7 separate regions of the Homo sapiens genome follow, and all the other regions are linked to region 7. Evidence: promoter capture Hi-C in 16 types of primary human blood cells and fetal thymus (Javierre and others, 2016). All regions are on one chromosome and are shown on one strand. The core of a region is centred on a gene start or on the middle of the fragment in contact, and the rest is flanking DNA. Distances in the headings are between cores, read along the strand shown.

The links. Contacts are between HindIII fragments. The CHiCAGO score rates a contact against its expected background, and 5 or more counts as called.
Region 1: a fragment that was not itself captured here is called in contact with the fragment with the promoter of OTP in region 7 in 10 of 17 cell types (total B cells, naive B cells, megakaryocytes and 7 more); the score reaches 16.5 in total B cells.
Region 2: a contact is called between a fragment that was not itself captured here and the fragment with the promoter of OTP in region 7, in 1 of 17 cell types (megakaryocytes). The highest score is 5.2, in megakaryocytes.
Region 3: a fragment that was not itself captured here is called in contact with the fragment with the promoter of OTP in region 7 in 1 of 17 cell types (megakaryocytes); the score reaches 5.1 in megakaryocytes.
Region 4: a contact is called between a fragment that was not itself captured here and the fragment with the promoter of OTP in region 7, in 1 of 17 cell types (naive B cells). The highest score is 5.5, in naive B cells.
Region 5: a fragment that was not itself captured here is called in contact with the fragment with the promoter of OTP in region 7 in 3 of 17 cell types (naive B cells, total B cells and megakaryocytes); the score reaches 7.1 in naive B cells.
Region 6: a contact is called between a fragment that was not itself captured here and the fragment with the promoter of OTP in region 7, in 1 of 17 cell types (endothelial precursors). The highest score is 5.0, in endothelial precursors.

What each region holds. Positions count from the first base shown.
Region 1 is chr5:77,968,895-77,972,144 of GRCh38, reverse strand. No RefSeq gene overlaps it. Among named protein-coding and RNA genes, the nearest start is that of TBCA, 190 kb to the right of the region's middle. The HindIII fragment of the contact is 604 bases long and covers 1,038-1,641 here.
Region 2 is chr5:77,987,508-77,990,833 of GRCh38, reverse strand. No RefSeq gene overlaps it. Among named protein-coding and RNA genes, the nearest start is that of TBCA, 210 kb to the right of the region's middle. RefSeq lists enhancers at 2,100-2,619, 2,620-3,139. The HindIII fragment of the contact is 9,302 bases long and covers 1-3,326 here.
Region 3 is chr5:78,050,098-78,053,308 of GRCh38, reverse strand. All of the region lies in intron 22 of AP3B1 (adaptor related protein complex 3 subunit beta 1), which reads left to right. Among named protein-coding and RNA genes, the nearest start is that of AP3B1, 240 kb to the left of the region's middle. The HindIII fragment of the contact is 344 bases long and covers 1,705-2,048 here.
Region 4 is chr5:78,112,189-78,115,639 of GRCh38, reverse strand. AP3B1 (adaptor related protein complex 3 subunit beta 1) reads left to right here. Exons shown (of 27, transcript NM_003664.5): 19 at 1,717-1,888. Among named protein-coding and RNA genes, the nearest start is that of AP3B1, 180 kb to the left of the region's middle. The HindIII fragment of the contact is 4,249 bases long and covers 1-3,451 here.
Region 5 is chr5:78,147,190-78,150,784 of GRCh38, reverse strand. All of the region lies in intron 14 of AP3B1 (adaptor related protein complex 3 subunit beta 1), which reads left to right. Among named protein-coding and RNA genes, the nearest start is that of AP3B1, 150 kb to the left of the region's middle. The HindIII fragment of the contact is 495 bases long and covers 1,288-1,782 here.
Region 6 is chr5:78,033,182-78,036,868 of GRCh38, reverse strand. It overlaps AP3B1 (adaptor related protein complex 3 subunit beta 1), which reads left to right. Exons shown (of 27, transcript NM_003664.5): 24 at 2,424-2,508. Among named protein-coding and RNA genes, the nearest start is that of TBCA, 260 kb to the right of the region's middle. The HindIII fragment of the contact is 799 bases long and covers 1,775-2,573 here.
Region 7 is chr5:77,636,999-77,640,195 of GRCh38, reverse strand. OTP (orthopedia homeobox) reads left to right here and starts at 1,483. Exons shown (of 3, transcript NM_032109.3): 1 at 1,483-1,683; 2 at 2,966-3,197. The coding sequence starts at 1,647. RefSeq lists enhancers at 386-940, 941-1,497. The HindIII fragment of the contact is 2,017 bases long and covers 462-2,478 here.

The DNA of each region.
Region 1 (3,250 bases), core at 90-2,589, 330 kb before region 7:
ATGTGCAAACAGGGACAGCGAACAGCAACAACAAATAACCTAGTGTCAGAGACGTTGGTGGCAGTGTCCACTCGCAGTGACTTGGGGCCAAATTGGAGTTTATATGTCAAAACAGGCTCAGATCAATGTGTTGGGCTCCTCCTGCAAAAGGCTGGATGGAGTCATGGCAGTTGTTGATGTATGTGTGTGTGTGGGCATATTATGTGCCGGGGAGTGGAGGAGAGCAGGCAAACGGAGGAGGTGAAATGCCTTTCCATTAATTTTTTTTCTGCTTTATGCTCCCGAATTCACAGCTATTAAGATAAATTTATGTGAATCAGGTCTTTCTCTCCAGGATCTTGTGACTTTCGCCTGTGTCTCCATATAAAATTTAATAACCTTGTTTGTGAATCAAATCATTCCCACAACAACAGATTCAATCTGGGTTGCCACCTGTCTGGCTTTGGACAGGAGCAACCGAATTGGGCAGCTGGGTTCCAGCCTTTCACGGGGGCTGGTGGTTGGTTGGCTGCCTGGCAGGTCCGTTTGCCCTGGGGTTTTCCAAAAGCAGGAGTAGATGCGGCTGACATCTGAAGGGGAAAGGGAGGACAGCCATCCATATTCCTGAGACCCGCCTTTTCTTCGAATGACCAAATTGGTGGCAGCCCTATTTAAAAAACACAAGAATTCATGAGAGTCTAAAGCAAATGGGGGAATAGGTCACCATCCAAGAAGTTCTTATGCTCACTCATTTTTCTTCTACAATTAGCCATTTAGGGAGGGAAAAAGTCACAAATACATGAATTATGTTCTTAAATGTATTTCTAAAGTTCTTAAGTTTTATCAAGCATGAAAGTTGGTCTTTCCCTGTGTTAAGGACTGAAGAAGCTATAGAACTAGCTAGTAGCTCAATGGTGCAAAGTCTTATGATTTAAACTTGACACTTGCAATTTTTTGCCGTAAAATATTACTTTCTTTATTTCAAGACTTTAGTTGAAAACCTCCTAATTCCCTTTAAGCTCCATTTGATTGTCAATTGCACAACTCTCTCTAAAGCTTAGGGCTTATGATTTTCATACACACACGATTTATGCTTTTTGTGTCACAATATAATGTACTTTGGTACAGCTCCCACTTATTTCTCTTGCATCACGAGAGATTTTCCTTTTAGAGGCTGGGAGTTTTATAGTGAAGCTGTGAAAGAGTTGTGATCTGGCTGTACGTCTCGTTGAATTGTCCAAAATTGCCATTTTTGTTGCCCTGTACAACCTTCTGTGCCACTCCATTTAATATGTTTCCAGAAAATGTTGACCTGGATATCTGCATATCTGGGTAAAAGAATGAAATTAATTTCACGATTGAAAATTTCAATAGCTGGCTGCAGAAAGATCATTCATTGCCTCAAGTATGGATAGAGAGATAGCAGAGCCAGTGTTGGATGTTGCAGACACAGATTTCCTTTAGTCCATTTGTTGTCAGTAAATCGTAAAGCTGGATTTGCAATGGCAAAATCCCAAATATGTTTTACTGGATCGATTCAATGCGTTTCAGTTGTAAAACTCTAAGGTCATCCAAGCTGCTGATTAGAGCATAACATTTAAGTTAATGCTGTATATTAACACAATACTTAAAAACAAAAATACCACAAAGAGATATTAAGCTTTCTGAAAAACCATATATTGTTATGGCAAATGTTGGAATTCATGCAGGAATTTTGTTGATCCTAATTGTTATACTTTGCAGATTTTACTTTGTTGTCTCCTAGAACTAGAAAGAAATTTAGAGATTATCATACTCTCTTTACAGCCCTACGTGCACATGAAGAAACTGAGGCCCAGAACGGTTAAATATTTTGCTTAAACCTACACACACGCAGTGAAATTTTCCAAGTATTCCTCCTATTTGTCATTATTCCAGTCAAGCCATAAGCATTATAAGTATGTGAGAAAAACATCAAATGTTTTTGTTATACCTTGTCAATGTTAATTATTCAGGCATTTATAAACATTAACATTTTTCTGGCACAAAAAACTTTTCAAATTCTTGATTTAAGAAATAATTTAAAATGGGTGTTATTCCTTGATTACATATCTAGAAATTGTGAAACAATTACAAATGTAAAGGAGTTTTCAGTATTTGAAAGTGTTGCCATGTCTTGGTTATTTGAGGTTAGGATTATATTGTTTGTTTTCGAGTTTTCTGCTTCTTTTGTCTCCCACTCTTTCTGCTCTTTTGGCTTTTTGCCTTCTCCTCCCAGCTCTACAAGGAGCATACTAATACTCAAGAAGCTGATTTTATCATTGCTGATAAAAATTTCATGAAGAAAATAGGACAGAGCTAGCAGATAGAATGGAGTTTGATTATCATACTTCTCCCTGGCTCTCCCTGGCTATCAGTACAATGGGTAAGCAAGAAATAATCTAGCCTGTAGAAGAAAAGGTAATATTTGGTAGGTTTTAAAAATAATTCTGCTGGAAAGTTACAGATTTATTTGTGTATGAATCACTCTTGGAATTCCTATGATTGCCTTTGAGGCATAAACTTCAGAATGTGTCTGAACTATTAAGCATCTACCTTGTTGGTGTAGCTAGGTGTTTAAGAGAAATACACTGAAATTAAGTTATGTTAACCAAGAAAAAAGTTAGCCCCTTACCCCCAAGTTTAGGTGTATCTGTTTAAATCTAGATCTAATCTGAAATTTCTGGTAATGTGGTCAGACTCTGGGTAGCATTTGGTAGCTCTGGAAATTATAGTCACTCTAGTGAAACTGCTGAAATCTAAGCTGAGGACATCATGGGCACTATAAACCTGGAGTCTCAGCTACAATATATACTAACCAGATCCACTCACCTCCTCTCGGCTTCACCCTGAGTGTTTGGGAATTTCTTTGTTTCTTTTTTTTTCTTCTTTTTTTTTTCTGAGTTGGAGTCTTGCTCTGTCGCCCAGGCTGGAGTGCAGTGGCACAATCTCGGCTCACTGTAACCTCTGCCTCCCAGGTTCAAGCGATTCTCCTGCCTCAGCCTCTTGAGTAGCTGGGACTACAGGCGTCCGCCGCCACGCCCGGCTAATTTTTGTATTTTTAGTAGATATGGGGTTTCACCATATTGGCCAGGCTGATCTTGAACTCCTGACCTCATGATCCACCCCCCCCCCCCCCCCGCCCCAACCCCTGGTCTCCCAAAGTGCTGGAATTACAGGCATGAGCCACCATGCTCGGCCTTCTTGAGAATTTCTTAACCAGACATTATAAAAAACAAAAATAGTACTAGGT
Region 2 (3,326 bases), core at 744-3,243, 350 kb before region 7:
TCTTTATTGTTCATCTCATGCTTTTCAAACTTCTACATTTATATGTGTTTTATAATGCACTTAATATTTTGGTCCAGAGCAGTGATACATGTATGTGTACAGTAATACATATGTATAACTAGAGACCCCGTATATAATTAGTAATACATGTATATAATGTACAATCAATAGTACATGTATATAATTTACAAATAACATGCATGTTAGAATCTCAGTCAAAACCACCTGGAAACCCCAGGACTGCAGTGTGGCTCCCAGCATGCACTGCTCTGTGCCGCTAAAATACTGACCCCAAAATGCCATTCTGAGCCCCTGGTGATTTTCTCCATAACTGTGCTTTGGGAAGAGTAGGCAGAGAGGCTTCTGTTGAAGTGTGAGGAAGTATTCCCACTTCCCAGACAATAATAAGACTTACCTTGGCCTCTACCATCCCTCACCCCTTTTTCTTCAGGGCCACTTAGAAAAGAACATTGAATGTTCAGTCACCTTAACGAAGGAGCCAAAGGAGCACAGGAGGAGGGAGATCCACTCCCTGGCAGGTTCCCTGTGCAAGGACTAATTACAGCCCACTTTGGAGAAGTCGGAGGCAGGGCACAGGAGCCGCACAGCCTCTGTTGGATGGAGGAAGGAGGGGCCAGGCAGAGGGTGGGATGGCATCTGGATCCCTCTCATCAGGAGTGAGGAATGACTCATGATTCACAAAAGGTCATTGCCTACTGAGGTAGATAAATTACCTATAAGCCTTCAGCAGAGTTAGAGGACCTATTTGGTAGGAAGTTTTCATTAAATCAAAGATTTTATGGCTTCTATTTTGTTGCATAGCAAAAGGGAAATAATTAGTAATTGACAAAGTAAGTGCAGGGAATAAAAAAGTGTAATGTTATTCTAATAGGCCCTGTCTTGGTCTTTAACTTTTCACTTGCAAGCAGCATTATTTTTTAACTCAGATGTATAAAAATCATCCACACTGAGAAAGTGGAACCAATTGCAGTTAAACAATTGAGGGGAGCACTAACCAATAATGGATAGGCTTTAAAATGCCATAAATATTGTTTCTTTTTATTGTGTTTGATTTTTGATGATTCCCATAACCCACTGGTTAAAATTAAATAGACATGGTCTTAGGTATTACTCAAATACATTTTAATGCTAAACTATATAAAGCAGAATATATCTGTGCATGTGTGTACATATATACGTACGTATGTATTATTTTATAGTTTAAAAAATCCAAGGAGTGGGTATTCTACACTTAAATACTGAGGAAAGGAAGGAAGTTGGAAAGTACATATGAAAAATGCAAATATATATATATGTGTATATATATATATAGCCCTGAGTTTCTCAGATGAGTCACTGTTTTTCTACTGATATGTCTATCTTGGAAGACCCCCAGATTATAACAATAGTGACACTGAAATTAAAATTTCTCAAGGGTGAATTCAACTTAACCTATTGGGAGTATCACTGTTGCTTATAAATTAAGCAGATTTTCACAGAATAACAAACATTGGCGCCTATCAGTGAAATGTTTACTCCTTCACATGGCCACAGAGATTTCTTTTTCATAGGATTCCTGCCTTTTTAGCCCCAATTAAATCTGCTTTGGAGGGGATTTGTGCTCCTGTGAGATTCACAGGCAATAAGAAGTAAATGATAAACAAAGTTATATGGAAAATACCAAAATGGGAGAATAGATTCACACTAATTAAAATTATTTTTTAATGCTATCTTCCATAATGAAGGGCATCCTATACTTGGCCTTAGGCTAATCCTTTTTAAAGTACATTTTCTTCTTCTATCCTCACCACAGCCAGATTTGAGAGAGGCTGTCTTCATCTGCATTTTACAGATGAGGGAACTGCTACTTGGAGAAGCTACCACCTTGCTCAGAGTCAGACAGCCGGAGAGGGCGGCTGGGCATGGCCCAAGATCTGCCTGGCTCCTGAGAACTTACAAGAAATTCCTCTGCTCTCTCTCCCAGCCCTGCAGGGACAGTATGAAATGAAGAGGGCACCTAAAATTCAGACAGATAAAGTGCCCAGTACCATGCCTGGAGCTCATTAAACATTAAATTATGGACATTATTTTATATTTAAAAAAATCCAAGGAGTGGGTATTCTCCACTTAGAAACTGAGGAAAGGATGAATGTTAGATAAGAAAAACGGAAATGTTCTCATGAAAGGTCTGTACGGGGGAACGCATGTGAGGCTGCCCCGTTTATCGGCCTTTTCAAGCGTCTCCCCGGTTTCCCAAGTTCTTTATTTAATAGCATTTTAATCATGTCAGATGATGCCATTCTTAACCATTTCCCCACAAAGACTTTCCCACTCATTAATAGATTTTGCTGTCGGGGAATGTTTCTGGATAATTATTTAGCAGCTTCTCTTCTAGATTTCTTCTCACTGGAATGCCATGAATCCTGAAATGGAGCAAACAGGAGGGCGCTCGCATTTGTGACCCTCAAGACATCAGGTGGGTTCTGGCAACGTTGCCGGAAGGTGGGTGATTTACTGGCTTTACTGCCCAGTGAGTGACAGCCACTGAGTCTCCTGACCGCCCGGGGCCTCGGGTTCTTCTTGTGGTCAGGTGGGACAGCAGAGAGATGTGTGGAAATCAGGGCGAAGCAGGTCCTCCCACGGCATCCCTCTCCCACGGGACGCCAGCATCCTTCGGTGGGGCTCTGCGTGCACCCAGGGAGCGGGGCTGGGTCTCTGGGCTTTGGGCGTCTGAGGCAGGGAAACACCCTTGGTAGCCTTCGTCCTCTTCCTATATGTTTAAATCCGGGACAATCGTACGTGAGACTTCTCCAGTCACATACATAAACACCCTGATTTCTTTTCCCCTTCACTTCAAGAGTTTGGGCCTGCCCTCTGTGACTTCTACCACACAAAAAAGGTGGGCCCTGGGGGACCTAGGCCAAATTTACCAAGGTAGCAGGGGGTTTCCTGAAGCGCTGAGGACACAGGAATTCTAAAAGGCCTTTTACAGAATGTTAATGACTCTTGGGAAATCTCCTAGTTTAACTATATTGCCTCACGAAAATTAACATTGCATTAACCTCTCTATCCTCTTCTACTTTGTTTTGAAAAAGTAGCAGACAGTTTATTCTAAAATGTAACAAACATCCTATTTGTGTTTACTTTTTATGCCACCAACAATGCACTGGGTATTGAGTTGAACCAGGCTCCAAGAGAAAATACAATTAATGAATAGTCACAAGGTTGCTAATCTGATCAATGCCGGGTGATAGGACATTTAATCTGATTGTCTGTGACTGCAATTGCACAGAGCTTTGGCAGCCAAGAGGACCGCCCTGGCTGGC
Region 3 (3,211 bases), core at 627-3,126, 410 kb before region 7:
TATTTTCAGTGTTAATGAAGACTTGAATTAAGCTGGTGGTAGAGGGACAGAAAAGAGGAAATGAATGCAGGAGACAGTGAATTTGTTTCTAATTAATGTGAGGGTGTCAAAGATAATGCCAAGGTTCTGAGCTTGGTTATAATGGGAGAAGACACTAGCATTTTCTTTTTTATATTATGTTTTTAATCTTGTGAATGAAAAAGCAGTAGAACTGCTAAGATCACGTAATTATCACATCTTTCAAATCACAGCTTAACAATGCATAATTGTTTTGGGCTTCTGTAAAATGCTCTGGGTTCTAAAGAAATTTGTTATAACCAGTTACTGAGAACTTCATGCTGAACACTTTACAAGTCAAATTCAGTCTGTTTTTATTAGTACTCTTAAGCCAAAAGTCAGAAAAGAAATATAAAAAGAATAGGAGAACATATGTATGAATAGTATAACATATCAGTATTCATGGTTCTGGTGCTATTTACCACGTACGTGATATATAAAACAATATAGACATTATTCTGGCTTTCAGATATATAGAAAAGCAGTAAGTGTATTGATAGTGAAGTTTATTGATCTGTCTTTGGGGAGGAGAAAGAATGGGATATTAATTTCCTTATATCAAAACCATTGTAAATTGAATATATCCTATACCAGGGATCGGCAAACATTTTTTGTAAAGGGCCAGGTAGTAAAGATGTTCAGCTTTGCAGGCCACAACCACTCAACCCTGCCATTTTAATGCAACAGCAGCCACAGATAATACATAAATAAATGAGTGCATCTGTGTTCCAGTAAAGCTGTATTTATAGACACTAAAATGAATTTCATATCATTTTAATGTTACAATCATATTACTTTTGATTTTTCAACCATTTAGAAATGTGAAAGTCATTATTAGTGAACAGGCATTGCAAAAATAGACAGTGGACCAGATTTGGCCTCTAAGCATGGTTTGCTGGTGCCTGCTTAATACCGAGCATGAAATAAGATGCTCATTAAATATTTGTTCATTATGTGTTCACGTATTTCCACAAATATATTTTTAATATATATTATTACCAAAATAAGAGGTGAGAAAGTCTTGTGTGCTTTATAATGTATAGTGATTACTAAAATAAAATATGAGAAATTATCATAAATTTGTATATCAAAATTTATATACATAAGGAAGAAGTTATCTTTAGTATTAAAAACCATTTATTTGAAGTAATATTTGCTGGAAGATTCAAATATATTTCTTCGAGTCTGTGCTTATATGTAAGAGTTAACCAAATTTGCCGTTTACTTTTTTAAATCCTATTCTAGGTCAATACTAGGTTAATGCTAGCCTCAATGAAATGGATTGAAGGTAAAATCAAGACCCACTTTCTACAGTTTATAGGATAAATGAGACAATACTGTGACTTTCTGCATTACAAATCTTATCAATTGAGACATACATTGGTTTTAAAAGTACTAATTTTAAAGATGAAGCTGTGCCTCTGTTTATAGCTATTTTCTTACCTCGTCATTTTTATAAATTATATATCAAAATAGATACTGATGTAAAGTAAGCCAAACAAAACTAGATACAAAGAGCATTTTATATACTGCAGATTTTCATATCTTTGAAATTCAAAAACAGAATGGATTGATAATACTTAATGACTGGGTAACTAAATGTGGATTAAAGCATAAAAGGCTGGGAAACATTGTTTTCATAAAGCTTTACGTGGAAATGTCATCTTTGAATAGTAATGTGGATGCTGAACAAGGCTTATTCCAAGGCACTTACTTGCTATTCCATGTTTTATTTTTCGAATCTCATTTTAAATTTTATAATTCAATCATTTTGAACAGCTATGTTCAAAAGAAGTTTTACAACTTTAATCTTAATAATCTCAAAAAAAAGCAGACATGCTATGTCATAAAATAACTATTAGTGACTAGTTTGTATCCTATAAATCTAACTTGAGTTGATAATATGGTCCATTACCAGCTAACTGCACAGAGTATTTTTCATTTTACACTCTTCAGTTACTTTTTAGTGAAGTGTTAAAAAATATGAAGCTTTTCTCCTCTCTAAAATTGCACGCTGTCTGTCTGTTATTAGGGAGATAACAGCTCTTATAAATGTTTCAGTAAGCGCTAAGTAGACAGTTATGTGCACTCTCATTCCACGCTTATTTGCTTACTGTAATAAACTGATAAAATATGTGTGGTTTGTCTCTGTGTATCTACAGGCATCATGAGTCACATAGATTTCCTTTAGAAATAATGTTGTGTCTGCAGAATTGATTGCTTATTTTCATAAACCATCTAAAGGTACACAAACGACTTTTATTATTTAAACATATGCTGTGTAAAGATTTGTAGAGGATTATCTCATTGTTACTGGATGCTTTTTGTTCTGTTAACTCTTGGGGGAGGCTTGTTATTTTACAGTTACTGCAGTTACTGAACTAATTACTTCCTCACGAGCCATAGTAAAGATGACCTATATCATTTGCTTATAATGCATCTAAGTTTTTAATTCTTTGAATGTTAGTCGTTAAACAATTAAATCAAAACTAATGTTTTCAAACTTTGTCTTTCATACTCTTGTTTATATAAGTTTTAATAAAATAATACACTTATAAGTAGACATTTCAAGAATTAGTGTTTGAATTATAGAAGTCCCTCAATAAGCTGTTCTTTGTGCATTTAAGAAATGTACTTCTTTATTTGTTCACAATTTTATGTAATAGAAAATTCAAGTTATATCATAAAACCAACAAATATTAATATAGAAGATCTCCACATATCACCACAGTGTGTTCCTATAAGGCTGTAGTATTTTTAAGGACACTGTTATAATTGAGCACTCAGCATTAAATAATGTATAGTTATGACCAACACTAGAGGTATATTATTTGCAAATTTCCATAATCATTTAAAATAGTAAAATTATGCTTTGAGTTCTGAGAAAGGGTAAAATTAAGTTTAATACATTGAGCATAAAAGTGGGAAGTAGATGGGAAGACAGGTAATAAACATAACAAAAAAGTAAATTATATATTGTGTTAGAGAAGGTATTAAGTGTCTATAAAAAAGGAAAAAGGAAATCAGAAGGGAGGGATGCCAATGGGTTAAGCCTTACTAAGATGGTAATATTTGAGCAGACATACTAGAGCTGAGCCATGTGGGTCTCTGGAGAAAGTGCCTTCCAGGTAGAGGGTCCCAGGGAATAACCTAT
Region 4 (3,451 bases), core at 183-2,682, 480 kb before region 7:
AAAGGTTGAGGGTAACTATATGCAGTGAAAAGAATGCTTAATAGGAAGGATTTAGAGGCCCTGGCTTTTACCTATGCAAATTGAATAAGGCACCTACTTTTCTCTATATCAGATAAATGAAGGGGTACAGTTAAATATTTCTTAAAGTCCCTTCATTGCTAAAATTCTGTGAGTGATTTGCATAATGAAAAATAGATTGTAGTCACTTTCTGATGCTCTTATTAACACTTAAGCTAATAGGCAAATCTGACCCAAGACCAAACGACACCCAACTTTCTCTAAAATCTTTATTCCTTGGAGAACCAGGGCCTGTCACTCTTACATGGTTATCTGCTACCCTACTGTAAGGTAATTCACTCTTCTTTTCTCTGTCTTCCTTATCAAAAATCTTTGTTTTTAGTATCTGATAAATTAATCTGTGATACATTACCTGTAATTTCTTTCATTGTTTATAGCATAAGCCAGTTATCTGACTTAATATGTATGTGCGTGTAACTTGGATATTACCACAAATCTAAAATGTCCTTATTTAGTAGCTTTATTTTAGTAAAATAAACTTTCCTGTTTGTAAATGATGATAATGATGAGTGCCTTACCCTGTGGCAGACCCTGTTGTGTTCTAATCTCCTTTGTATGTTTCAAATCATTTAATCTTCACAACAGCTCTGAAAAGTAACTAGTGTTATCCCCATTTGCTGAAAAGGAAACCAAAACCCAGAGAAGTTGAATAACTTGTTCAGTTTTACAACTGGCAAGTAGAAGAGCCAGGATCTGAATCCGAACACTAACTTGAGAACCCATGCTTGTACCCCTTGTAAGCCGTCTTAAAACAATACAGGCAGTCCTAGGTTTTCACTGTGATGGACCTTCCTGATGTTGGTATTATTTAACCATTAGAATGTTTAATTAAAGGTTATGTTCCTGCCTAAGAGGGCTTCGTTACATAGATCACAGGCAGGGCAACAGTTTGTCCTTTTGTCTGGGACACAACTCTGTAGTTATAGTCATTTTAAATAGTAAAAATTATGCTTCACTTAAAAAATACACATATATTCTTCATGTATTCTCTTCTGCGAACAGTCCTAGCATACCATAATTTACACATAAAACATTTAAAAGTATAATTCCTCAGTGTAACTTGATCATCTCTTTGACCTATGGAAAACTCGTTTACTAGCTCGAATAAGTAATAACTCTTTAATTAGTCATTTTGCCTATTGTCTTTGAATTTGGAGGTCTTTCCAAGTGATTTGAATGGCTCATTTTCCTCTCAAAATTTGTTCCTAAGAAGATTCAACTGTTGCCTTCTTTTACTCTAAATAGAATTTCCCATTACAAGCAGAAGAATTCAAAATTATTTCTTTAGCCTTACATCAATCCTTACGTAATTCTTTAAAAGAAAGTTTTTGACATAGCTATATACTTTGGGGTTTGAAGTGAGATTCCCTCAAATTTGGTTTACTTGGTTCACCTTTGCTTAGCTTTTCTCTCCTCGTTGTCAGAGCATCCTCTGTCTGCCTCCCTCCAAGCTCACAGTGCTAAAGGAATCCATAGAGCTGAAAGAATGGGGTGTGGGAATAAAATGTTAAACAAGTGGTGTCCACTGAACTAAAATTCAACATCTGGTTTCATTTGTGATGAATATTGACAGTTACAGGTGTCCGTGTGTCTAATTAAATGACTATAAATCTAAGAACATCTGGTTCTGTTTTTCAGAGAGTGAATCTGGAAGTGAAAGTGGAGAACAAGGCGAAAGTGGGGAGGAAGGAGACAGCAATGAGGACAGCAGTGAGGACTCCTCCAGTGAGCAGGACAGTGAGAGTGGACGGGAGTCAGGCCTAGAAAACAAAAGAACAGCCAAGAGGAACTCAAAAGCCAAAGGAAAAAGGTAACTTATTTTGTCAGAATTTCCTTCAAAAAATATTCTGTGAAAGTTTGCCCCAGGCAGAGATGTTTCTTATTAATCAAAAAATGGTGAGAGAAAAAAAGTGTGTATTTTTTTCCAGATATTAAATCTTTTTAAAATTAAAGTGCTAGTTGTTCACATTATTTTCCTACTTGTAATGCTTAGCTTTCATTTTGAACTTGAACATATCTTGGGGTTACATTTTGAAAATTGGTATAACCTTGGAAGGCTGAGTTAAGTGATCAAGCAATAGGTATGAAACACTTAATTACCTTTTGTAGCGATTTTGCTGAGGGCTAAAATTAAATCCTTCAACACTTTGCCATTATGTAACCAAGACAATTGATTTTTCTAAATAATGTTATATTAAAAAGATTATGATCCAAATATTAGAGTCAAGGGCTGTGAAGGAAGACGGTCATAAGATCTTTAAGTGTTAGCACTTTTTAAGATCTCCCATTATCAATAACATTATCATGTATTAAAGTGTCATTAAAATTTTGAGTAATTGGGTCTAATATCTTGGATTGTGCAACTCTGTTTTCCCCGCTGCTGTCAGCGAGTGGCCTCTGCCGACATGATGGTCCTTTCCCCGGGAGCCTGCTGCCCGCTCACTTGATGAGCTTGCAGCCCGGCTCAGTCGTGGCTGACAGCACTGATTGGGGCGCAGTACGCTCTCTGCTCCTTTTATTACAGACAGTAATTAAAGCAGCTCTCCCTGCCACTTCCATAACAAACACAGCATAATGCCCTAATTATGACTTTATTAATTTAAGTCAGGATTTAATGATTTTAAAAGTGATTTATATTGTTTTTCCTGTTCAGAACAAATGAAATCTGTAGGTTAAATTAATACAGGCTTTTCATCATTGCAAAGTTAAAAACCTAGTTACCAGTAAATTCTTTTCATTAGATTAACATCTGAAACTCTAAGCAGTAAGGTAAACAATAATTACCATCAAAATTGAGTGATGCATAATAAAATAACACTTTTACTTTTAAAATCTTATCTTAAAAGCTAGAAGTTGAATATATTTAGAATCATTCACTTGTTGCAGCAAAGGAGCTACTTGGTTTATAATAGCCTTGTCTTTGAGAGAAATCCTGTACTTCTGCTTTAATATCAGCATGTCTATGATGATACGAGTTATAAAACATGTCCTGTTTCTAGAAAGGGAAAGTTTTGTTCAGTGCATGAAATGTCCTTTCAGATGGCAAAAGTCAGTATACTCAAAATTTGTAGTCATGTATTAGGTTTATTATTCTTTTCTTCAGAAATGGATTTTTCTCTTTACCCATGTTTGAATTTAAAAGAATTGTTTATTACAAAGAGAACCACAAATACATTCTAAACCTTATATTTTTAAGTACACATTTTAACCAGTGAATTGGGGATAATAAATTGCCATTTTTTTGCCAGGGAAAAACAACAACATATTTTTCAGTCTTCAAATATAATTACATGTGCTCTGAGATGTTACCATGGCTCCATTTTTAATAAATAGCAATCATATTTCCTCCACAAAAATCAATTCTAGGAAATAT
Region 5 (3,595 bases), core at 286-2,785, 510 kb before region 7:
AAAAAAAAATAAATAAATAAAGCAATAAATATTAGTTCCAACTCCATCACTTACCAGCTCCGTCCTTATGTTAAAGTCTTTATGCCTCACTTTTCCCATGTGTCAAATGATGATCGTAAAAGGACCTACAATATAGTATTATTATAGGTATTAGCTTAGTTAATATGGTAATGCCCTTGGAACGCTGGCTGGCACATAGTAGTGCTGCATTATGTGTTTGTCATTCTATCTTCATGCTCTTCTTCCCTTTAAAACCAAAGTTTTTGAAAGAACTATCTGCAACAAGTTTTATTCCTTTACGTCAAACTCCCTCCCCGTCACAGTTGGATTTTGGTTCTCCAGCACTTCATTAACTATGCCTTTTCCAAGGTTACTATCTCCTTTCTAAATCCAGTGGATACTTTTCTGTCCCTATCTTCCTTGATCTTTTCTTAGCATTGGACTACGCTAACTACTTCGTCCTTTTTGAAATAGTCTCCTCATGGCTTCTGTGATTTTTCTCTTCTGGTTTTTCTTCAAACTCTTCAGCTATTTCTTCTCCATTGTGTTTGCTTTTTACTATGCCTTTTTCTTGAGTGCTGGTTAATGTTTTGCCAAGTGATGTTCTATAATAAATGCAGATGTAGTTTAGGGAGGAGTATATTATTTCCTTTTTTGAAGATGGGTTAATCTGTATTCTCATTCTCTTCAGAGGGATCATTTTTGTGTAGTCAAGGGTAATGGATCACAAGATTTAGAACCTGCCAGTCAAGACCAATTTTAAATATCTCTGGTGGCAAAATTGTCTTTCCCTTAGGGTGTTAGTAAAGCTTGCAAGGCAGTTACACATTTATCTTAAAGCTAAAAAAAAAAAAAAGTATGGCTTACAGGAGTCATTTAGCATCTGAACTTCCACCCCATCTCTCAGCGGAGAGTTACTTTGTATTCATATCTGTTCTTACTGTTGATTCTAATGATCAAAGCCAAGACTTCTCATAGAGATTGTGTATGAGAGATGTAGGGGTTAAGAGAGTAATTTGAAAACCGGATGACTTGGATTCACAGTTGGTCTGTACCTTTTACTAGCTTCATGAACTTAAGCAAGTTACTTGACTTCACTATGCTCCAGTTTTCTCATCTGTACAATGGGGATCATAGTACTGACAACCTTAGAGCTCTGTTGGGTGGAATGAATGAGTCAATGCATGTGAAGCACTTAGAACAGTGCTCGGTGTAAGCTGTTATTAAGGGAATATTGAGTGTTTTTTGAAGAAGACAGACTATGGTAAGGTTTTAATTTTGTAAGCTTTCTTATTGCCTCTTTTATATTTTACTTATTTAAAATAACTCCTATAGAGCATATCATTTGCCAGGCACTATTCTAAGTACCTTAAAAATATAAATTATTAATTTTTAATAGCAACACTTCAAGGAAAGTTCTCTTAATATTCCTATTTTATATTTGAGAAAACTGAGGCACAAAGAGGTTATGTAACTTGCCCAAGGTCACATAGCAGCAGGTCTGCTTTCTTAACCAGTGCATTATGTTGTATCTCACTTCCATTTATAATCTATCTGTTTAAAAATTTCACTTTATTTAACAAATATTTAAATTGTCACCGGTCCTTTTTCTGTATTCAGTTCACATACCTACTCAGTGACCTAGCCAAGGTTTTTTTTATTATTTCCTTTTGCTTCCCTCAAGTCATTGACAAATTGGGAATTAGAGTGACATGATCAATGTCTACCGCAGTGTAGAACAGATGTTTGACATTACTTTGATGGGAAATGAGAGGTTAAGCTTTTTTTCTCAAAGCCGCCGAAATGGACATCTAGCATTCCTATCCACCAAGCATCAAAATTCAGTCGTGTCTCTAGTCATTGTAACACTGCTCATATTTAGTTACTTCCTACGAAGTGATACAGCCCCCAGGAAGAACCACTTGTCTAACCAATAGCTAATGAACTAGCACAGAGAACTCTAGATGGAAGAAGACAAAGAAGAGAGATATATAGGTGACTGTATATTTACACATGATTATGAGGTTGGTGCAAAAATAATTGTGGTTTTTACCACAATGGCAAAAACCTCAATTCCTTTGCACCAACCTAATAAATGTATAGCAATAGACTAGGAATGTCTAACCAAAGTGCTAAATTTGAACTCTTGATAAAGAAGGGGGCATAATATAAGGAAAATTCTATTAACCTAGAACTAAAAACATTGAATATTCAGGAAAACTGAGGAATGAGATTAAATGGAGGTCAGAATAAAAGAATGTTAAAGGTTTTGTGGGAGGAAGAGAGTGGAGAGAAGTGAAATTATTATGGTAGTCTCATCTGGTGTTCAAAAAGTAGTAAGGTAAAAATAATTATCTTGAGGTGAAAACCATGGGTTTTAGTGAGGGAAATAGTTAATACCTTGTTTACAGGTAATGGTAGAGAAGTATGTATCTGATTATGAGAAGGAACTAGGAGTTCTGTATCTCCCCAGACTTCTTGTGCAAAATTTAGTTAAAACTTGTGCTAGTAAACTCGTTCTGGTCCTGTTTAGAAAGGAAGAGGCAATTATAAGTACTAGGGCTTCAGGAGAGTGCAGCTGCTATACATAAAACCTGTAACAGTGTATGAGGCCTGTATCTGGCAAACCCTAGGCTTTCTTGGAAGAAAACTTTCTTCTATTTGAGTATATTCATGTCCAGGGATACAGAAGATACTTTTGATGTGTAAACTTTCTTTTTCTCGCTCATTCTCTCTCTTTCCCTTTTTTTTTTTAATGGAGTCTTGCTCTGTCACCCTGGCTGGAGTGCAGTGGCGCAATCTCATCTCACTGCAACCTCCACCTCCCAGGTTCAAGTGATTCTCCTGCCTCAGCCTCTGAGTAGTTGGGATTACAGGCATGCGCCACCGTGCCTGGATAATTTTTGTGTTTTTAGTAGAGATGGGGTTTCCCCATGTTGACCACGCTGGTCTCAAACTCCTGACCTCAGGTGATCTCACCCCAGCCTCCCGAAGTGCTGGGATTACAGGCGTGAGCCATGGCACCTGGCTGATGCATCAACTTTCTCAACAGTTGCTGGACTATAAGCCAAATAAGTACAGTCTTACAGCTCTATATAGCAAAGCTTATTTTTTTCAGCTTTTGTTTTTCTCAGAAGATAACCATTAATAGATACAAAAATATGGTGAGAATTCAGTATTCACAAAGGAAAATAAAGGAACAAATAGCAGTTTTACAAAGCCAGAAAAAAAATAAGAAAGAAAGAAAACAAATGTAAAATAAATAATAAGTATTTAAAAGTAATAAAGATGGAAGAAATAAAATCAAATATTTCTCATCTTGAATATGAATGGACTGAATTTTCTCATCAAAAGACAGACTTACAAATTGGAATAAAAACAAAAACTAGCTACAGGCCATTTATAGTTAAAGCACCTTAATCAAGTGATAAAAGTTGAAAATAAGAAGGTAAGGAAAGAGATATTAAGCAAATATGAACAAGAAAGTGAGATTTACAGTTAATTAAAAGCATTTAACAAGATAAAAAGGAACATTATAAAATGAAAAAAGGGTAATTTGTAAAGAAAGTAATAAGCACAAACCTATTTGCACAAA
Region 6 (3,687 bases), core at 925-3,424, 400 kb before region 7:
AAACATTTTAAGAATGCAACAGAAAACAAATACTGTATTTTAGTGTTTTAGTAAAATAAGGGAGGTAAGCTATTTGTTTTATTTATTTTTAAGAACGTATACACATTAAGGAGTCCGCAGTTTTCTTATTTGCCACCAATCTGGTTTTGTCTGTAATGTGCAATGACTTTTTTTTCTGGATTTCACTCTGTGTTTGGCATGAAACTGTATTCCTTACAAGAATATTAGGAATAATATTCCATTTTCCCCAAAGAGACCCAGTATATAAGAGGGTTTTTTTTAAGACACAAAGAATAGGTTAAGCTCTCTTTACTATATTCAGTGGCTTTATGTTAGTGGTTGACAAATTTGAGTTCAGCTAAGATTTTACCAGTTACTGTACAACTGTTACATCAAAGTAAATGGCATCCTATATGATTTCATGTGTTGATATTAATGTTGTGGCGTAACAGAGCCAGTGTTTTTCAGCCACTTCTACATAGCCATCTCAAATATATAGGAGCAAATCTAGAAATGGTGTCCAAACAGAGACACCTAATTGGGTAAGCTTTCCCAGTTTAGTCGGCTCCAAGTATTATAAAAATCCATTATTTGAATGAGTTTATGCTGATCATTTTGCTCCTGAAGCATCCATATAATAAAACATGCCATTGATCATGGACTGTCCCCCAGAATTAGTATGGCACTAAGCTCACAGTTAATTATCTTAAGACTGAAGACAGTATCAAACAGTGTCAAAGAGTGCTATCAACAAGGCATCTTGAGAGCTGTCACTTTGTCAAATGACATGCAAAGATACATGATGAAGGGAGATCTAAATCATGAAAGCCATCAAGTTTTGGAGATGACGGAATTTGCTACTAATGTGTCAGATAAAAACAAGACCAAACCCCAAAATAGTTATGGCACAGAAGGCATTAAGAATTCACTCAAGAATAGCCTGGAGCAGCGTGTGACTGACAAAGCTCTAAACTGTTGACAGCACATAGCTTTATGAGAAATGAAAAAAACATATGTATCATTATAGTTATTTACCCTACAGTAAAGCCTGTTTGCTAGAGATTTAGGGAGCAAGTCTTCTAGTATTTGAGTGGCATCCTGGAAAATGTTAGGTTTGTAAACAAATGAAATTCAAACTAGAATCAGCAAACTAACATACATACCACTGAGCAAATAGCATTTTAATTATTACTTTTTTTATTTTTAACATACTTCCTTTGCCTAACAAATAGCATTTTAAAATCAGCATTGAACAAATACTCTCTTGTAATGCTTACTCCTCATTGAGCCTATGAGATATAAACATAATACTTAATAAATGAAGCTTATTGAATTATTATTTTATCCCGACTGTACCATCATCTCTGTCGTGGTTAGCATTCAATGGCAAATCATACTTACCAAGAAGCCCTAGAATAGTCACAGTCTATTGAATTAGAAGTGTGCTTGCTAAAATATAACTACGTGTGATAGGATGTATAGAGAATAGATAAAGCTAAATATAAAGTGATTGTATGGTATAGCTGCAATTATACAGAATACTTTGAGCAAAGTAGAAATCAAAAATGGACAGTTTCTATATATAAACAAATATATACATATTTATTTAAGATCCCCTCAATTATTCTAAGATATAGCTAAACTTTCAAATCATAAGCAGAATAAAATTTTGTTCTTGTTTGCCTTAAGTTTTGTCATTGTTAACTGAAAAAAAATACTGTATTGTATATTGGTATAGTTATTTCCTATACTTGGTTAGTTGATAGATGAAGCTTCTGAAATTCCAAATCTATCAAATGTCATTTTATTTTTTGTTTTATAAAGATAATCTAATCTGCCACAAATTTTTTTGAGTATTTAATGCAATTAGACTTAACATTTTGGTTTCAATGTGAGATCTCTTAATTAATTTCTGAGTGCATCTTAATTTCTTCTTCCAACTTGATTTACATTTTTTAATTTAGGATTTTTTTCATTGAAAATTTTGGACATTGTTTAAAATTTACTTTTTATATCTAGAATAAACATGCCATAGTTTTAAGTACATAACCTCTTATGAACTCCCAAAGTCCATTACAGGTATGCGAAACAAGAACACATTTATTTCCTTCTCATTTTCAGTACCTATAGAGATAATATTAGAAAACATGACATTTCTCAGGAAGATATGTATTTCTGAAACAAATGGGTATAATGTGTTCATTGGTGTATGCGCAGAATTAATTTGTGAAAAAGAAAACCTTGAAACAGAATAGTTAGGTTACTTTGTAATTTGCTTTAATATTCTTAGTTTGAAATTTTTAAGCCATCATTACATTTCACAGTTTCAACCAAGCTACAAACATTACCTAAATTTTCAGTGTTTAGTTTGCCTCTTTTTCACATCCTCTGTGTTTTCATGTCTAAATTATCTTATTTCCTAGACTCTCTTGAGCCTGAGGGATCCATTACAGTTTCAATGGGTATTGACTTTTGTGATTCTACTCAGACTGCCAGTTTCCAGTTGTGGTAAGTTCAATTGTTCTTCTATTTTTTATATAACCTGTAAAGGATAGCAGATCAAAAACTAAGCTTTCAACAGCTTTTGTGTGTGTGTGAAAGACAAAACATTTAAACAAATATGTTTTGCTTTGATAATGTTTAGACTGCCTTGGAATAGTTGTACAAATTGTGTGTAGTATATGTATTTTTAGCATTCGTTACACACCTAGCCATTACAACCTGCCATATGTGATTGAAATCCATGGTTTGTTGGTTAAAGAAAGAAGCTACTACTAAGTAATTTTTAACTTATCACTCCAGTTTTAGAAAATTTATGAGAAAATTCATGAGGAAAATCCAGGAGAAATTAAAAGCATTAATAATATTATTAAATAGCTCAGAGAAGATATCTTTTGAGATATACATACATGTTATCTTGAGATTCTTAAGTGGAATATTATTGATGCCATCAGTACCTAAAACTCACACATTTTTTTTTTCCTTTTTACATCCATTTACAAACTGCTTTGATAAAAGTCAAAAGAGAACATTTATGCAGTTGGCAAAGGTTTCATAGCTGAATGCTGTTCAGAAGAGCTTTTTTAGGATTGGATTTTGTTGTTAATGTTTTTCTATAATGCTTTATACATTTCTTGTGAAATTCAGAGGCTATTAGCAAATTAGAACAAAGCCGTATTCATGCATCATTGAGAATTATCTTTGAACTCTTTTCTTTTTCTGATATAAGGCCCAATTGGCTATTTTGAGTTGAAGTTTCTTTGTTTTTATTCTAAAAAGAATTGAGACATTTTACCTACATTTTAGCTAGCTTAGAACAGAATTTGTTATGATTTAAAAGTCTTGAAGTTTTAGAAATAGACATTTTAAAATAAATGTATAGATTAAACATAGTGAACTTTTCATTTTCATATACCTTTTCAGTTTACCAGTAATTCTGGCCTAATGTTATACCTTTTATTGCCGAGAACCTGCAATGATAAATATAAGCAATGTAGCATAACACATTGATTTTATGCAGATCATCACCTTTATGTTTTGGGAGGTCTGCTGTATTAGTGATATATAAAAACTGATTACTTTTCCCAACATTGCCTAGTAATTGTTTATTATTTTTCTATTAGACAAACAACACAGATCAATATTACTGAACAACAGGCTATGAGTAACATCACTCTAAATAGATTT
Region 7 (3,197 bases), core at 234-2,733:
AGCCAGCATTTTCAATGTTTTGTCTAAGTCAATTGGACGGCGAACAAAAAAAGCCATTTGCTCAGTATTATTTAAAACAGACTTCATTGGGCCACCCTTTTGTGGAAGGTTTATTTGCACTAAATGAATAATCTTAATTGCATCACTCTCGAATTAAAAATCAATGTTAATCAAGTTGGGAGTAGTAAATATCAGTTTTCATTGTGACTGGGTAGAGGGCATTTTTCTTGTGTTGCAAATAAAAATACAAGTCAAATAACTTTAAAAGGGCATTATGTTCTGCTACAAATACAATTGAAACGGATTGTTTAGGAGCAGATCAGAAATGGTACAGAATTTTGCACTTAATTTCCTCAGTTATCATTTACAATAAGAACCTCTAGGCTTGACAGCCAAGTCTAAACAGTAGTAAATTAGTACAAATTTATACTGATTTTACTCTAATAATCGTAATAAAAGCTTATAGATTTGGCACTAATTACATAAATGCCTAATGATCTTGAAAATTACTCTGGTTAGAAATATATTACTAATCTAAACTTTGTTGTTGGCTGGCTCTGAAAAATCAGAACATTAGAAATGGTTCGCTTCACTTGTGCAAAGCACTTTAAATTGTTCAAGTAGTTTAACATATTCAAGAGGAAAATAAAGAGCATTTAACTTTATTTACAGCCTTAAGTGGAGTTGGGAGCCGAGCTGAACTTAGAAACTTTGACCAAAAGAGCGAGTTAGGGGCGAGGATGCGGGCGTGGGCCAAGCGGAAGAGCAGGAGCCGGGAAGAAGCCCGGTGAGAAGAGTGCAGAGCGCTCGAACCCACACTCCGCGAGGGTCCCCAAAGCAGACAGCGGGCGCTGGCGGTGCCAGGGAAGCCGACTCCTCTTTGCGCTCTAGGCCCACTGTGGGGTTGGGGCTCGTATAGACCCCAGGGCACAGCCAGGGCGCCTGGACCCTAGGCGCAGGCCTACTGAGCCGCGGCGAAGTCCAGGCGTTGTCTGAAGGCCGCGGTGTGCCCTCGTCGCGCCCTGGGCTGGCGGGCCAATATGAGCGGCAGGCCCAGAGAGCGCAGGTGGGGGCGACCCTCAGGTCACGCCAGGGTCATGGCCCGCTCTGACCCCTGCTCTGCCCCTGCCCTAGGAAGATGTTAGCTCAGAGGCACAGAGCTACGCCTTCGAAGCGCGCAGCGCCGGCCAAGGGGAAGGAAAGGGGAGCCTGGAGAAAATCGCAGGGAAGAACTAGAGGGAGCCGGGCCCAGAAGCTCAGGGCGAGGCCGAGGCGGCTGAGGCTGCTTTAGCTCCTGCTCCGGGCTGGAGCTGCCAGGGCTGCCGCCGCCGCCTCCTTCAGGCGGGCGCAGGCGAGCGGGCGGGCGGAGTGGGGGACTCTCCGGGCGCTGACATTTGCAGGCTGCCCTCCTGATTGGTCCCCTCGCCGAGCTGCTCACGGGTTCATTCAACTGTTAAGCACCTCCCCGTCTCTCTAAAGGACATTATAATGCAAGAAGCCCCCTTTTTAACCACAAACCGAATTTTCTTTCATTTAGGTGATCTATATATATCTATATCGTATAGCTTATAGCTTATATCTATTTTAAATAACTTAAAGCCGCTAAAATTTGGGGGGGAACAGCTTTCGCCCTGGAGCGGTGCGCGATGCTGTCTCATGCCGACCTCCTGGACGCCAGGCTAGGTGAGTGCGCGCCTCTCGCCCGGGCAGCCAGGAGAAGCCGGGGCAGGAAATTGTCAATTTGTTCCTTATTTTACCTTAATGCGACCTAAATGGACTAATTTCTTTAAAAGTAATTGTGCTGCATTAAAGTTTAATTTGATTTAACATCGCCTTTAAAAAAAAATCTATGGAATATGTAGATCCAAGAAAGGAGTTGGGGAATGTTGTTACTTTTTGTTTTTCTTATTTTTCTCTTCCCCCCTCCCCCGCCTTTTTTTTTTTTTCGAAAGGCGATATACCCCGTGATAATTTGTTAGGAGGTGTTTCTCTCTCTTTTTTCCCTCTCCTGTTTGTTTTGATTTGGGATTTCTTTCTCCTTCCCTCCCCCCGTTTCTCTCTCCCCACCATCTTCTTCTCTCCTCCTTTTCTAAGTGTGGTGTAATTTGTAAAAAATCTGGCATAAAGGAGAAGCTGCTGCCATCAAGGCGGATTTGCTAAGTGTGCTGGTTGAGAAGGAGAGAAGCCAAATTCAACCTCACAGTCATCCCCCCCTCTTCTGCAAGGGACTCAGCGTTGCCAATGGCTGTGAGGAATGCGCCTTTTATTTCTCTGGAAAGAAAAGTTGAAATCTCTAAAGTTTGATTCACGGTTGTCCATAGAGTTCACTCGAGTTTCCTTAATGCTATCTGGGTTGCTGAGCTCTGGGTTTCCGGATTGGGAATCTTCGGTGATGGATGTGACTCCATTTTCCAAACACTTTCTCTGATTTGAGGGGGAGGCGGAGCTGATTTGGGTTGATTTCGGGGGGTGAAAGCTTGGAGGCTTATTCATCTTCCGAAAGTAAGAGGGAATCGGCTGAGGGCCGGAGGTACAGTTCGTCAGGCTGCCGAAGCGCAGGTGCCGCAGCAACCGAGGAATTGTTTAATTTTCTTTCTGCCCCCCGCACCCCTGTGTCCAAAGATTTGCTCTCGATTTCCTGGGGCGCCTGGGGTACGGTTTATGGAAGGGATTCAGAGGCATGTTTTATTGCCGGGACTGGGAGTGTTTTATTGTGGGAGAGACGAAAGCTTGTGCTGTTTACTACGGGAGCCGGCTGCGGCGAGGGCAAGGGGCCGGGAGATATTATTCCAACCCGGCTGTCCAAATTCTGGGGAACCCAGCTGAATACCCTGGGAGTTTCTTCCTTAGGACAAGCGCGGGTGCGGAGGGGGCCGAGGACGGGTTGAAGGAAGGCTGCGCGGGGAAGACAGCCCCTCCTGGCATCGCCAAGAAAGTAGTGACCGCGATCCCCTTGCCTCCTCAGGTATGAAAGATGCCGCCGAGCTTCTGGGCCACCGGGAGGCGGTGAAGTGTAGGCTGGGCGTGGGGGGCTCCGACCCCGGGGGCCATCCGGGGGACCTGGCGCCCAACTCTGACCCAGTGGAGGGAGCCACTCTGCTGCCCGGGGAGGACATCACCACAGTGGGCTCTACTCCGGCCTCGCTGGCGGTGAGCGCCAAAGACCCGGACAAGCAGCCCGGGCCCCAGGGCGGCCC